Regions from separate parts of the Homo sapiens genome. Here region 1 is linked to region 2. The links are contacts of gene promoters, found by promoter capture Hi-C in human tissues and cell types (Jung and others, 2019). All regions are on one chromosome and are shown on one strand. Each heading gives the region's core, a stretch centred on a gene start or on the middle of the fragment in contact. The rest is flanking DNA. Distances are from core to core; before and after follow the strand shown.

Evidence for each region. Contacts are between HindIII fragments. The study calls those that stand out against the background at their distance.
Region 1: a contact is called between a fragment that was not itself captured here and the fragment with the promoter of FGL2 in region 2, in 2 of the 25 tissues and cell types used here (hippocampus and thymus).

Annotation. Positions count from the first base shown.
Region 1 is chr7:77,385,548-77,388,247 of GRCh38, reverse strand. GSAP (gamma-secretase activating protein) reads left to right here. Exons shown (of 31, transcript NM_017439.4): 6 at 800-888. Among named protein-coding and RNA genes, the nearest start is that of GSAP, 29 kb to the left of the region's middle. The HindIII fragment of the contact is 4,778 bases long and covers 1-2,700 here.
Region 2 is chr7:77,198,515-77,201,214 of GRCh38, reverse strand. FGL2 (fibrinogen like 2) reads left to right here and starts at 1,396. Exons shown (of 2, transcript NM_006682.3): 1 at 1,396-2,034. The coding sequence starts at 1,422. The region is part of intron 2 of CCDC146 (coiled-coil domain containing 146); the gene reads right to left. RefSeq lists a silencer at 1,696-1,805. The HindIII fragment of the contact is 7,307 bases long and covers 1-2,700 here.

The DNA.
Region 1 (2,700 bases), core at 91-2,590, 190 kb before region 2:
GCCTAGAGGGCTTGTGGAGCTATGCTAAAAATGGCATGGAGTGAGTACAAACAACTTCTTCACTCCGTGCACATTGATTTCTCCCTTGAGATCTTTTCTGTGTCTCTGTTGAATTTGTAGAAATGTCAAAGTCAAACTTTAAAGTCAAACTTTAAGAAAATCACCTTTTTTTCCCCCTGGTAGAATAGCTAATACAATAGTTAGCATATTTATATTTTCAGAAAGTTCAGACATGTCTGCTTTTGCAAATCATAGAATTGTGATAATTGGGAAAAATGATATCCATTAGAAACCCGTTAGGCCCTCTTATATGTTGCTGGTGAGAGTGCAAAGTAATATACAGTGATCTTTGAATTCAGAAGCCACTTGTGTTTTAAATGTGATGCTTTTCTGTAAATGCAGAATTCTTATAATCTGAAATTTGTCTCCCTTGTATCTACTGTTGTTTCCAGGGCTGTTCAAAGACTTCCCTTTTCACATTTGCATTTCTTGAGTATCCTGTGGTTTTCATAATAAAATGCAGCTTCTTCAGGGCTCCTGAGGGTGTGGAAGGCAGGTCCTTTGCTGGGCTGATTGCTCTTTTGGGGTCCTGGAGCCGCTACACATCCTAGAGAGTAGAACTGGGAACAGATTTACAGTTTCAGTCTCCTCACAGGACTCTAGGATGGTGGTAGAATTGTTTTATTAGTTTATAGTCACTGTAGTAGGATTTACCGGAAATTGTTCTTACTCCTTGCTTTGGAAAAAATAATGTGTGATATTACAATCTTCGTTACTAAAAGCCTTCTTTTCTCTGTAGGATCAAAGTGCTTGACTTTGTTGGTTGAAATCCACCCTGTTAACAATGTGAAGGTTCTAAAGGCTGTGGATAGCTATATTTGGGTTCAGGTAAGTAAGCATGCCATTTATCACTTATCTCATTAATCAAAAGGCATGCAGCCTAGAAGAATTGGGGTTTACAAAGTACTTTCACTCTATCATATTTAATCCTCAGAACAGTCTTGTAGACTACTATGGCTGGAAGTATCCGCTCTTTGTTTGCAAGCATGGAAATTAAGAACTCGAAGCTAGCTCCACCAACTCTGTTTGTTTCTTAGTAATGTAATATTTTCTCATGATAAAATATCAAATATTAAAACACATTTAAGGTAAGCTTTAAAATGGTCAATATAATGTATTTGCATGGTTGACAGATTAAGTATCTATGGTTAAATGGCTTAATCCCTGAATTTATCAACTTCATGAGTTGATGCAGAAACTGCATGTATAATGTAGGTGGCATAGATACAGTCATTCCTCATTATTTGCAGATTCCATATTTGCATATTCTGCTGCTCCTAAAATTTATTTGTAACCCCTAAATTAAACACTTATAGTACTTCGTCAGTTATTTGCAGATACATGCTGAGTGGTGAAAGAATTTGTCACCCAACATGCACATTCGCAATTGAGGTTGAACACGGTGATGCCCTGCCTTTTTTGCTTTAGCTCTCATACTAAAATGACAGTTGTTTTCATGGCCTAGTTCCATCTTTCAATTTTTGTGCTTTTTCCTGGCGATTTCACAGTTTAAACGGCTTCCAGGAATAGCGCTGAGGCACCGTCTAGTGTTCCTAAGTGCAAGAAGGCTGTCAGATGCCTTAGGGAGAAAACATGTGTTTCAGATAAGCTTCATTCAGGCATGAGTTACTATGCTGTTGGCCATGAGGTTAAGGAGTGTCTTTAAATAGAAACACACAAAACAAAATTATATACTGATCTGTTGACAAACATGCTGTGACTAGAGGCTTCCAAGAATTTATCCTTGTTTGGGTTTGGATCATAATCCCAAAAGACAATCCTGAACACCATAATCCTGAATGTTGAAATCCTGAAAGGTCAAAAGTCTACAGTCCCAAAAGCCATGATCACAGGATAGTTAGTATACACGAGTGTCTATACTTTCAAAACTGTGTATGTTATTATTGCCTATTTTATTGTATAAAGTGGACTATGAAGTGTTCTTTTGTGTTTTGCTTCTCAGATAAGTCTTCTTTTAAAAATGTCAATACATCTTTTAAATAATTTTTAAAATTATTTTCTTCCAGAATTATATTTTTGGGATTTTGATCTTTTGGGATTTCAATATTTAGGATTATGGCATTTGGGATTGTGTCTTTCAGGATTATGATCAACTCCCTTTGTATTTCCCTAGAAACAATGGTTCAGTATTCAGTATACGACATTTGTGGTGACTTTACAGAACATAACTACTGCAAATAATTTGAATGAACTGTGTGTGTTCACACAGTGCTACAGCATAATTTCCTTTCGCCTAATTTCACATTTTGTTACAGGGTCAAAATATCATTTCTTTTGGTCTAGCCAGAGTCAATTTGCACCACTCAAAGTATCTGCCTTTTTGTCCCCCAAGCTATTACCAGCCTCCACCCTATGGGCCTCCCTATTCCAGTGGGTTAGGGGAGAGGGTTGTCTCTCTCTTCCCAGGGTCCTCCCCTGTCAGCCAGTCCTTTCAGCTGCGCATTTCCCCGCCACTCCTGACAGCACTGTGGTCGCTCCTCAATTCCAGATATGGCCTGGCCTGAAGCTCCCAAGCTGCATTCTCCTACCCTCAGGAAGCTACTCCGTCTACACTGTCATCAATGTGGGGAGGCTGGGGACAGAGCACACTTCTCTTTTCTGGTCTGTTCTTTGGCTTCC
Region 2 (2,700 bases), core at 147-2,646:
AATAGCTAAATTCCTCCGCTACAGCTACAGGAACAAAGGCTCATTAAAGCTGATGATCTGTTTACATGATCAGAGGTAGATCTAGGGTTGGAAGCCAGGTCTCCTGAGTATGCGAGAATAAATACAGTCATGGAAGAGTAAAGAGTCTGCCAACATTTTGAGAATGTGAATAGGATTTGGCTAAAATTAAGGGGATATACAGAAAAGTCATAGGAAATCAGGTTAAAGACATAAATATGAGATAGGCTACAGAGTGTTTTAAGTAATACAATAAAACATTTAGATTTTTGCCCATGTCAGTCATTTTGAAATTATTTTTAAAGCAAAAAAACCCTTTTTAAACAAGAAATCTTATGAGATGTCAATATGCAAAACAAATTAAAAGGAGGTGGTTTCTCTAACTGAAGCTGTTCCTCTTTCCTGCCTTCAGCCTCTGAAGAGAAAGTTAGAAAACTATTATCATTAATGCTACATGTTTTGAACAAGCTGATATACCAAGTGGCCCAGAGAGCAGGTAGAAGAACCAGCGTGGAGACAGAAAGCAAGAGGCCCGCCTGCCAGGGCTACCTGCAGAAAGAAAGGGCAAAGATGCTGTAGGCAAGAGAAGTTCAGGACAGACACTGGCATAGCTCAAAGATTCACATTTGAGCAGCTGTGGAAGATGACAGTACAATTACCAAAATGTCGAAGGGCAAAGGAGGCAGCTACTGGTTTTGATGAAAGACAATTATGTCCTTTTAAATGGGTCTTAGACATTTAGACATTAATATACACTATGCTACGGACAAAGGAATAGAAAGTAGCACTTTTTTCTCCACTAGTTTTCTTCTCTTTTTCAAGTAGATGAAGCAAAAGTCAACTGCAATAGTCAGAAAGCTGTACTTTGTTACACTTAGAAACTTCTAAAAGTGCTTAAGATTTCACCTGAAAGTCCAACATGAAGAAAATACAGGCTCCCCAATGCCCCATTCTAAGAAGGAAAAAGGACCATTTTCATTTTAGTAACGTTTCTGTTCTATAGACAGTTTGGATAACTAGCTCTTACTTTTTATCTTTAAAAACTGTTTTTCCAGTGAAGTTACGTATAATTATTTACTTCAAGCGTAAGTATACCAAATTACTTTAGAAATGCAAGACTTTTCTTATACTTCATAAAATACATTATGAAAGTGAATCTTGTTGGCTGTGTACATTTGACTATAATAATTTCAATGCATATTATTTCTATTGAGAGTAAGTTACAGTTTTTGGCAAACTGCGTTTGATGAGGGCTATCTCCTCTTCCTGTGCGTTTCTAAAACTTGTGATGCAAACGCTCCCACCCTTTCCTGGGAACACAGAAAGCCTGACTCAGGCAGCTGCCGCTATTAAAGCAGCTCCAGCCCTGCGCACTCCCTGCTGGGGTGAGCAGCACTGTAAAGATGAAGCTGGCTAACTGGTACTGGCTGAGCTCAGCTGTTCTTGCCACTTACGGTTTTTTGGTTGTGGCAAACAATGAAACAGAGGAAATTAAAGATGAAAGAGCAAAGGATGTCTGCCCAGTGAGACTAGAAAGCAGAGGGAAATGCGAAGAGGCAGGGGAGTGCCCCTACCAGGTAAGCCTGCCCCCCTTGACTATTCAGCTCCCGAAGCAATTCAGCAGGATCGAGGAGGTGTTCAAAGAAGTCCAAAACCTCAAGGAAATCGTAAATAGTCTAAAGAAATCTTGCCAAGACTGCAAGCTGCAGGCTGATGACAACGGAGACCCAGGCAGAAACGGACTGTTGTTACCCAGTACAGGAGCCCCGGGAGAGGTTGGTGATAACAGAGTTAGAGAATTAGAGAGTGAGGTTAACAAGCTGTCCTCTGAGCTAAAGAATGCCAAAGAGGAGATCAATGTACTTCATGGTCGCCTGGAGAAGCTGAATCTTGTAAATATGAACAACATAGAAAATTATGTTGACAGCAAAGTGGCAAATCTAACATTTGTTGTCAATAGTTTGGATGGCAAATGTTCAAAGTGTCCCAGCCAAGAACAAATACAGTCACGTCCAGGTATGTATAATAATGTTTTCTTATCATATGTTCATAAATGTTATACAGCTAGAGAGTATCTATAAACATTAACCTGAGTCAGTAAGTTAAATAGATGACAGATTAAGTCTTTTATTTATCAAGGTGCACAGGAAAAAATAAATATCTTCTCAAATATGACCACATAAATATGACCTAATTACAAAAATCATAGTTAGTTCTGTATCCACTGGAAGTCACTTTCAATTTTAAGATCTTATTTGTTAATGCCAGACCTACTTGCAAGCAGAAGTAGAGAGAATTTCTTGATGTTTTAGTGCATTTAACTTGTCTCTTCAATGAGGTGTTTGAAAACAATAAAGATAAGGCGATGTTCACAATTGTGCCTTGTTTGTTGGAAATCAGTTTTTCTTGTGATTGACTGACTGCCGCTTCTCATGGCTAAAGAGGTCTTTGAAAGATTTTAGCAAGTAATCTAGTTCTTAATCCCAAATATCTGGAGAAAATGGGAGAGTTTACAGATGGAATAAAAGCAGTTTCATATGTGTGCACAAATTTTTGCTTTGAGACCTAGTGGCACAAAAAATATTTTAAGGGGAGAGTTTTAGCATGCCACTAAGGGAAGGTATTCATATTTCTTTCTCTTTTACCTGAAGTTAGAATTCAAGCAGATAGAAGTAGAACCCA